2 separate regions of the Homo sapiens genome follow, and region 1 is linked to region 2. The links are contacts of gene promoters, found by promoter capture Hi-C in human tissues and cell types (Jung and others, 2019). All regions are on one chromosome and are shown on one strand. Each heading gives the region's core, a stretch centred on a gene start or on the middle of the fragment in contact. The rest is flanking DNA. Distances are from core to core; before and after follow the strand shown. Region 1 overlaps SLC66A2 (solute carrier family 66 member 2). Region 2 holds the start of ADNP2 (ADNP homeobox 2).

Region 1 (5,164 bases), core at 1,554-4,053, 190 kb after region 2:
CTTCGGTGTGGAGCCCAAAAGGCAGGGATGCTCCCAGAGAGAAAGTGGGTCTCAGGGCGGGCGTCGTATGTAGGCTCCCCGGCTGGACGTGGGCCTTGTCCGGCGGAGTGTGGCGTCCCCAGCCACCCCACAGCTGGAGATCCTGTGGGCAGTGCCCGCGTGCCGAGCTTGCGACCTGGAGATCTGTGGGAGGTGCCTGGGTGCCAGGCCTGTGCCCTCCAGAGCATCACCACAGCCTCGTGGTGAGGGTCTAGCGGATCCGGACCCCACATGCCGGCCTCCTGGCCCCTCACAAGGAGCTGGCCGTGTGTGACCTCACAGGGGCCCCAGGCTTGGCAGGAGCTGTTGCTCTCGATTCCAGGGTAGCAGGTTTTGCTGTTCAGCGCAGGCATGTTGTTCAAGGTCTCAGCCCAGGGGCTGCCCCGTCAGCTGGGGGGACGTGGGAATCCTCTTCAAACCCGAGTTTCCAGATGCTGGCCGAGGCGGCCCTGCAGGCAGGCCTGTCTTAGGCCCTGAGGTCTGCTCTTCTCACACACGGGGAAGGCTCCAGAAACGCCTGTGGAAGGGGGGTCTGTGTGTGGAAGAAACACATTGGACGTGCTTTTCCTGTTCTCACTCACTTCACCACAAGCAGCACACACACTTCCATGTGCAGGCGTCTCCCCAGCACCGAGCAGGCAGTCGGTCCTGCGGCGGGCACCGCCGGTTGTCCTGACCCAGAGACAGCGCCAGATGCCACCCACACTTAGACACCCATCGCAAATCTGGGCCTCTGGAACTTCTGGGCCATGTTAGGGTTCCATGACCCCTCCTTGGGCTCTGTCAGCTTGCTGGAGCGGCTCACAGAGCTCTGGGAAACACGGTTGCTGATATTTTACAAAGAGCATTTTAAAGGACAGACATAAACCGCCGAGTGAGGGGATACACAGAGGGAGCTGTGGAGGGGTCCCCAGGCAGGAGCTCGGTCTCGTGGAGTGGGGCTGCCGCCCTCACGGCACACAGATGAGCTCCTGTTCACTCTCCTGCCGGCTCCCGCAAATTCAGCTCTCCCCGGAGCCTCCCAAAGCCTGTCTACTTGGGAGACCTCATTGGATAGGCGTGATGGACAATGGTGTTGAAATGTGATTGGACCTAAGGGTGCGACGTGAACCCAGCAGGGTCTGTTGAGATTCTTCTGTCCTCTGTGCAGGCTCCTTCCTCCAGGATGTCGGCAGGACCCTCTCTGGAATGAGGGTTAGAGTCCTGCCTGGGCAGGTGAACAGAGGGCAAAAGGTCAGAGAGATTCTGTTTTCTGAGGCCTAAAGCACCCCAACGTCATGACAAGAGCTACAGAAGCACTGTGGGTACGGGAGCACCACGGGTACGGGAGCACCACGGGTACGGGAGCACCACGGGTACGGGAGCACTGCGGCTATGAGAGCACCACGGGTACGGGAGTGCCGCAGGTACAAGAGCGCCGCGGGTACGGGAGCACCGTGGGTATGGGAGGGTACGGGAGCACTGCGGGTACGAGAGCGCCGCGGGTACGGGAGCACCGTGGGTATGGGAGGGTACGGGAGCACTGCGGGTATGAGAGCACCGTGGGTACGGGAGCGCTGTGGGTATGGGAGCGCCATGGGTACGGGAGCACCGTGGGTATGGGAGGGTACGGGAGCACTGCGGCTATGAGAGCACCGCGGGTACAGAAGCACTGTGGGAGTTAGCACCCTGGAACCGTGGATGAAAACCCGTGTGTGTGGGATGCGGATACACTTACACACATGTAAAATAGTATTGGGGGTGCTGTGTGGGCGAGATGGGAGCCGGGGTCATGGTCCTTTGCCTGCATACTTCTCCTTGGCTGCGGAACTTGGAACGTGTCTCAGGGATCCCAGGAGGTGCAGGTGTTCTACCTCTGAGTTTGCCCTGCTCCCTGGGTGAGTGCCAAGCCCCTGTGAGATCACCTGGGCTAACTTCTGCTTTTATAAACCTCAGGTGTGGCTGGGGACGGGATGTCACAGGCACCCCATCTCCCCATCGGGCCACAGGAGGCTTGGCCTCTGTCCCTGCCGGGAGGGCCGGGCAGAAGACGGGCGACCCACACAGCTGGCACGTTGTGAGGGCTTGGATGGAGTCCTGAGGCTGAGGGAGATGGAGCAGTCTCTGCGGAGGAAGTAGGCAGCGAGGTCAGCCAGCTTCAAGTGCGGGACCGCTGAGACCCTGTGCATCCTCGTCAGGAACGGGGACCAGGAGCAGCAGCGTCGGGTCGGCTCGGAGTGATGGAGTGTGTGGTTGTAGTTACGGTAATGAGCGCCCCGGAGAGTCTGTGCACTGAGGCCCTGGCCTGGCCCCGGGGGGATGGGGAGGGGACAGGGCGGGCCCTGGGGGGATGCGGAGGGGGTGGGGCTGGCCCCGCCCGTGCTGCCGGGAGCTTCAGCCCTCCCCAGGCCCAGTTCATCCGGTCTGCGCTTTTAAGAGTGACCATCGGGCGGTTTTCCCACTGGAACACATAAGGCGTTTGCTGCTAGAACGCACAGCCAGCCTGACCCCATGCCTGCCAGCCAGGCAAAGTCTGGGGTCTGCTTGTGGGGACGTTGCCTCTGCATGGCCTGAGGGAAGGTTTTGGGAGGGTTCTCACTAAACGGGAAAGGGAACAGGACCACTCCAGGCCCAGCCTTTGTGCCGCACGTCCTTATTTCTGCTGCTCTGACGCCGCGTTTCACCTTGGCCCTGGGTTTTAGTATCACCCGAGTGTGAATTCTGGAGGCCCAGCAGCTGCCTTCCACAACCTGAGACGCCACCTGGCAGCCTGGGCAAGGCAGGGCCTGCAGGGCTAGGGCCGGCGACCTGGGGGCTGTTCCTGAGGCTCCCTCTGGGCAGGGCTGAGTCTGGAGCCGGCTCCACTTGCGCGTCTGAAGCTCCGTCTCTTTGGGCCTGTGGGCCCTGCCCACCTTCCTCCCTTGGCACTGCAGCCTGTGGGGCACAGGGTCCCCACCTCTGCCCCCCTTGCTGTGTGGTCTTCTGGCTTCTCCGCATGGGTCCAGGCCACCGCTCCGTGGATCTTCAGCCCTCCCCGGCCTGGGTTCCACTCGCTCTCCAGACGCAGCTTGGGCAAGGGGGTGTCTCTCCCCTTTGCCACTTCCTGGGTGCTCCTGTGGTACCTGCCTGTTCCTCCGGGGCCACGGCAGCCTTGGGGTGGGCTGGAGTGACCCCCCACTTCCTGCTGTCAGACCACCCCCCATCTGGAGGCAGGTCAGAGACGTCTCAGGTTCCTTTGTGCTCCGATCTGCCTGATGGGGGCGTCGTGGTATCCCCAGCCCTGTCAGGAGTTGTGATTCTTGAAGCCATTGTGGGTAGTGGTTTCTGAATGCAGGTTTGATAGATCATGTGTGCTTCCTGTATAATCTCCAGGGTCGTGTTTAAGATGACGTATTTAAAATGTGCACACACACGTACTTAACAGATACCCAAAAAACCAAGACTTTGGGCTGGGCGCGGTGGCTCACGCCTGTAATCCCAGCACTTTGGGAGGCCAGGGCAGGTGGATCACAAGGTTAGGAGTTCAAGACCAGCCTGGCCAAGATGGTGAAACCCTGTCTCTACTAAAAATGCAAAAATTAGCTAGGTGTGGCAGGCGTCTGTAATCCCAGCTACTCAGGAAGCTGAGGCAGGAGAATCACTTGAACCTGGGGGGCGGAGGTTGCAGTGAGCCAAGATCGCGCCACTGCACTCCAGCCTGGGCAACAGAGTGAGACTCCATGTAAAAAAACAAACAAGACTTTGGTGGCGAATGGTGACATGAGCCTGAAACGTGACAGCCTGAACTTCAGCTCCTTTTCTCTGGGGACCTGCTAGTGCCACTGCCCTAGGTGAGGGAGGCGTAGATGCTGCCTGGAATCTTCCCTGGGACCCACAGCCTCAGCTCCACATTAAACCGAAGGTCTCTAGGATGTTTGATAGGAAGTGACTCAAGAATTCCCGAGTTGATCTCGTAGCAGCCCTGCTTCTGGAAAGTCCTGTGTCTCGTGTACTTGCACACACGTGCACAGGCCGGCATGCACAGTTGCCTCCATGCGCGCGTGCGCGCATGCACACACACACAGCGATGCACACACGGTTTCCACCTGTGAGCAACTGCCGGAGGCATTTTTGAACAGTGACTTCCCTTTAGAAAATACTACGTGGTTGTAGTTTCTGAACCAGTAATGAGATGTGATAAAGCTTCAGAAACAGCTTTGCTAATTAACACAGCAGGCTCCGAAGGGCGGATTTTCTGAGAGTGTTTGCATTCCTCTTCCTCCAGTTTTTACTGGATTTGAAGACTGTTCCCTGACAAGGATTGGAGGGTGAGGTGGGTGTAGATGATGAGGGCAGCGGGGGTGCGTTGGTGTTGACAGATGGGGAGGAGCCTGAAATGCGGAATACAGACACCGTGGCTGTGGAAGAGCCTGGGCAGGTGCCTGTGTGGACCCCGACAGTGTGTGACCACCGTGGCTGAGTGAGGATGGGTGACCAGGCAGGTGTGGCATGGTGCCTGCAGCAGGTGAAGCTGAGGCTCAGGCCGCCCCGCAAGGAGAGGATTTCAACTACGTCAGTCCTCACCCCTTGGGGCTGCCCCTGTCCAGCCAGGACATGGGCTGGATCCAGAAGCCGAGCTCTTACCCAAACTCTAGAGCAGGCTGTGTGGGTCCTCAGCCTCTGGGCATGTGGCATGTCTCCCCTGGGGCCACGTCTTCATGACACTCAGAACCCCCCCTCACCCACTGTGCCTTTCCTTATGCCTTTGATGCAGAGCAGGCCCCTGTGGTTCTGAGTGGAGTGAGTGCTGCACAGGATGCCTGGGTTAACAGGAAGCAAGCTCGGTGCACGCAGGCTGGCCCATGTGACAGGAGGGTTCAGCGGAGGCTCTGGAACATTACAAAGTGTGACCCGCCTGAGATGTGACTCACATCACAGCATACTCACGGGGCTGCCAAGCCAGCACCACGGTCTAATTCCAGAACATTTTCCGCACCCCAGGAAGCAACCCCGCGGCCACTGGCAGTCATTCCCACCGCCCCAGCCTCCTCACCCCCGCTGCCACTCCTCCACTTCCCATCTCCATGGGCTTGCCTTTCAGGACACATCACATCAGTGGTGCCTGATGACACGTGGCCTGGTGACACGTGGCCTGGCGACACGTGGC
Region 2 (5,008 bases), core at 2,206-4,705:
ACATACATGAACCTCAGAAAGGGGTTACTAAAATGAGGCTCTCAGAGATTGGGCAGGGGTCTGTGGTTACTTGTTCAAGGCTTGGGACTAGGGCCAAGGAGTTGTCACTTTTTTATTTTTTTCCCTTGAATTTGAAAAATAGGAACTTTTTATTCTCAAATGAAAGTGCTTCCATTCCTTCATCGTTATTGTGGCCCTTCTAAACAAAACAAAACACAAGCACACAAATACCTTTTCATTTAAAAAAAGGAGGGGGAAAAGTTCCCCCCTCCTTTTTTTTTTTGTTTAGCAGTTTCCTAACTGCTTTAGGGAAACCAACAAAGGATAAAAAATAAAATGCAAGTAAATTACAGGTTTCATAACTGTTGCCAACCACTTTGGGGATGGGAAGCTGACTTTTACCCATAATTTATCCATTCTAAGCTACCACAATTTATTCATTCTTAGATCCATTCTTATAGCATAATTTATCAATCCTAAGATAAAATATTCCATGTAAAATGCCCAGTGGATGAATTAACTATGAAATAGTTCAATGTTTTCATATTTATAGATCCTCTATAGATACTGTTCTCCATAGAATCTTAGAGCTCAGTAAAATCTGTATTTTCACCATTAGAAAACAGCAGGCTAACCGGGGCGGCCAACTATTTCCACATCATGCACCAACCTATCAATTTCAATTCAAAATAAATCTCAATTCCTAATGTTTAGGGTAGGCATGGAACTACCATAAAATTCCACTGATATGCACAAGAAAATATTATTTCCCAAAAGGGTACATAAAGGACTTCTCTGGGGATTTTTTAGTATAATGATCTCGTAAGGATATTCTATTATAGAAAAAAAAATACATTCTAAAAGAAAATGTTGGCCGGGTGCAACGGCTCACACCTGTAATCCCAGCACTTTGGAAGGCTAAGGCGGGCAGATCACCTGAGGTCAGGAGTTGGAGACCAGCCTGACCAATATGGTGAAACCCTGTCTCTACTAAAAATTACCAAAAAATTGGCTGGGTCCTACTCGGGACGCTGAGGCAGGAGAATCGCTTGAACCCGGGAGACAGAGGTTGCAGTGAGCCGAGATCACACCACTGCACTCCAGCCTGGGCGACAGGGCAAAACTCCGTCTCAAAAAAAAAAAAAAAAAATGTCATTCAGGTAATACAGTAATAAACAATACTTTTTAAGCCACAGAACTTTTTTTTAGTTCCTGTGAAATCGCACAAAACGATGGTCACCAAAAAGGATTCTGGAGTTGTGTGCCCGGGTTTACATCAGCTCCACCATTTATGAGCTGTGTAATCTTCAGGAAATCACTTACTCTCTCCAGGCCTCAGCTGGCTCTTCTGTAAAACAGGGCGAGTATGACCTAATTCACAGAGTAGTTATGAGGATAAATGAGTTAATACATGCAAAACAGCACATAAGCACTGAGTTTGCTATTAATTAACTCCAAAAAACTAAATGAAATGTCCCAACTATTGGAATACAGGACTTTTTAAAAAGCAACTTTAAAAACACAGAATACTTGGATCATATATTCAGCAGATCTGGGTTCAAATCACTGGGAGATACCGGTTTCCACCTATGTAACACATTGCCCTAACAGGTCTAGGATAGCCAGAGGATGAAGGGCAGGGCAGAAACCAAGTTTGCAATATGCTATTGGTGAACTTATGAGGGCAATCATAAATTAACCAACAGCATATTGCAAACTTGGGTTCAAATTAAAAACGTGTCTCCCAAATCCCAGAATCTCTTCAGCTAAAAATCTTAGCATAGCTGTCATCTTCCCCCATAAACAGTGATCAACTCCTTTCAGACATGTCCTAACCCTCACTGTTCCTCCCCTCAACTAGAGGGCCGGTAGGACAACCTCTTGTCTCATCTTCACTCTTGTACTTCCTTTCTTAACACACATCTGTCACTTCATGTTTAAGGACGACGGGCTCAATGCTGTCTTCGCAGTGAAGTCCTAACTCCAACCGAAATTTAACCGAAATATTAATACACACTCATACATGGCCAACTCTCCAAGAACATCTTTAAATAAGTTACACATACATTACCGACTTCCAAATACAGCTGAACATGTACTTTACACAACTCTTTTTACATGTGGTCCTCTCTCCCACTAATGCTCCTCACCCCCAAAAATGGTACCCAGACTCCAAACCCCCTCTTTTGATAAAGGCTCTGCGTGGCAGATGCCCACAGTACTCTACAAACTGCTGCCCCACTTGCCAATCTGCATTGTCAGTTACCTGCTTACCAGTTTCTCCTCCCCCACCCCACTCCTCCACAGCCAGTATATTCCTCAAGATCCCAAGAGGCAGTGATTACCCGTGCAAATAGAGTAAGTTTTAAGCACGCAGGCAAGTCTTCTGTTCAAATAAACTACTTAAAATATCTAATTATTTCTCATTCTGCATCTGTACAGTATTTAAAAGGGCAGTTAAAATTAACATTCCAAAGTCAACTGTAGTAGAAATTTTGTAAACGGAATCTATTTCAATGCAACCAGCAACGGCAGATGAAAAGTAATGTTAAAGTCAACATCTGTATATCAATTATTGATATTCGCATCAAAAGCTCAACGATGAAGAAACAGGGCCCCGTTATCAGCTGTTCTTCAAACCTTTCTAGGGAAAAAAAAACCTGGGCAGATTTAGGTGTCACCGTCAGCTCCTGACCTACATCTGCCGTCACTCAAGGCTCCTCCAGAGAGAAGCTTCCAGGAGAACCCGGTCTCGGGGATGCGGCGGGCGGGCCAGCGGGCGGGGCGTTTCTGGAGTCCTTACAGGGGTCGCCACAGCTCCTTGCCCCCTCTCTTCTTCTCCATCCCCGTTCCCTCTCCCTCTACTCCTCGCTCCCTTCACCAGCCCCCCTCTCTCCCTCGGTCCCCGTCCTCGTCTTTCCCCTATTCCTACTCTCCCCTCAGGTCCCCATCCCCTTCTCCGCCCTCCCGGGGCGGCCCCCGCTCCCACGTGACCGGCGGCGGGCGGGGCGGGCCGCGGGCGCGTCGGGGGTCGACGGGCGCCGTTCGGGCCGCGAACCCGCGCCCTGAGAACGTCCCGGGATTCCCGAGGCGGCCACGGGCGGCGCGAGGGCAGGCGGCGGGCGTGGGTGTGGGCTGGGTACCGGCGGGGGCGGGGCTCGGAGGGGACCAGACTGGGGCGGGGGCCAGGACCGGGGCAGGGGGCGTCGCCGCGCGGGCCCGCGCCGGGCCGGGCCGTACCTACCGCTTGGCGCCCGAGGAGCACCGCGTCTCCGCTGCTGCCTCTCGCAGGGCTGCCGCGTCTTCCGCCGAGCGCAGCCGCGTCCCGTGGGGCCGCCTGCGCCCGCCCGCGCCTCCGCCCCGCGCGGCGGGACCCCCGCCTCAGCGCGCGCCCACCCCCAGCGCGACTGGTCCCCTCCTCCCGCGCAGCCAGAAAGAGAAAATGGCGCTCGATTGGCCTCAGGAAGTGACGTTGGCCCTCATTTGCATGTAGGCGCAGCCAGCCAATGAGAGCAGAGTGTGCTTGGGGGCCCCTGGCACTTCCCACAGGCCCCCCGGGGCCCCTGGCTAAAGATGGACTGGAGGCTCTGGGGTGGCAGTGGGGGGCCCCTGTTGGACCCCCTGACTCCCTTCTGTCCCAGGGAACTGCCCTGCCAGCTCCTTTCCACATCTGTGCAAACTCTCGTGAGAGTTTGAGTGGGCAATGACGTCACTAAAGGGGTGGGGAGAGTGTGTCATCAACCATGTGACTAATCACGTGGACTCACCACAGCTTTGACTTCATTTGCATGGAATGGGGTGGAGCTAGTGGCAGCTCCAGGAGTGGTGACCCCGCCCACATCTCAGAGCCAATGGGAGCCCAACTGTGATAATGCTGCCTTGCCATTGGAAGACAAAACTTTGGCTCCCAGAACTGGGACAAGTGTGCCATGATTGGCATATCCTGGTGAACCGACTAGCTGGGGTCTCCTGACTTCATCATTCCTGTGGGAAAGTGATCACACCTTCTCTTGAGAATTCTGATTTTTAGATCTACTACAAGTTGTGTGGGGAGAGGGTTAATTGCATACATTTGTATAAACTCTTAACCTAAAAGTTCATTTTTGCACAGGTGTTTATCAATTGTGTAGCAATAATAATTTATTCCACAAAATTAGTGGAAACATGGCGTAGGGCTTTCAAAATGGCTCTAGGTCTTCGTTCCGTGGAGTCCCCAGGCCTCTGGCGGACGCCCTCGTGCCCCAGAGCACGTGGGAGTAACCACGAGGGCAGCGCAGGCGCCTCCCCCAGTGCCCCTAACCTTAACCCTAATTCTGACCCTGCACCTGAACCTCACCTAGCACTAACCCTGACTCTGACCCTAACTCCCCTCCAGTGTTCCTTCCCCTGACCCTAACTCAGCCGCGCCCTCAGTGGCTGTTCCAGGCAGTTCCTTCTTGGCGAAGCCGTCTGCAGGACACGTGCCCCTTTCAGCACAAGGCCACGTCTCCTTCCAGAGCGCCGAGCCCCTGCAACCCGCCGCCAGCCTCCAGCCCTGAGGCCCACTCCAGCCACCGCGGGGCAGAGGCCGTGCCCAGGCTGGGCCTTCCGCCCACCGCCCTCTCCAGAGCCTCCTTGTCACCATCCGCTCGTCCATAATTTCAGCTTTTCCCTCTCAATGGGAGCCTTCTGCTCAGTTTAGCCCAGTGACTAAACACATAATAGGCACTAAATTAATGTCCATATTCGTTTTAAAACTGTGTTAAATGGTGGGCCGATATGACCTGACCAAAATTTGCTTTTTTCCTACATGAATACAAGTCATAATTGAAGTAGAGTTTGCCCTTTATGTTTGCTGACAAGTTAAGATTTTACTTTGAGTTACAGTGGTAAATGGGTGTGATGTCCCTATATATCTTCCTTGCAAAATTATGGGTGGGATGAAAAGTGTAGTTAAAGCCTGCAGTCTCCCATTGATCCTCTAGTGACCTCTCATTTTATCACATTTCTCAAAACAGCAGTCCCTGTG

Evidence for each region. The method cuts DNA at HindIII sites, captures the fragments that hold promoters and counts their contacts. A contact is called where the count stands out against the background at its distance.
Region 1: a contact is called between a fragment that was not itself captured here and the fragment with the promoter of ADNP2 in region 2, in 2 of the 25 tissues and cell types used here (dorsolateral prefrontal cortex and lymphoblastoid cells).

Annotation. Positions count from the first base shown.
Region 1 is chr18:79,912,505-79,917,668 of GRCh38, reverse strand. The region is part of intron 5 of SLC66A2 (solute carrier family 66 member 2); the gene reads left to right. Among named protein-coding and RNA genes, the nearest start is that of SLC66A2, 37 kb to the left of the region's middle. RefSeq lists an enhancer at 4,381-5,164. The HindIII fragment of the contact is 9,290 bases long and covers 1-5,164 here.
Region 2 is chr18:80,107,709-80,112,716 of GRCh38, reverse strand. It overlaps ADNP2 (ADNP homeobox 2), which reads right to left and starts at 3,455. Exons shown (of 4, transcript NM_014913.4): 1 at 3,245-3,455. RefSeq lists silencers at 2,934-3,033, 3,234-3,393 and enhancers at 3,203-3,704, 4,531-5,008. The HindIII fragment of the contact is 8,526 bases long and covers 1,156-5,008 here.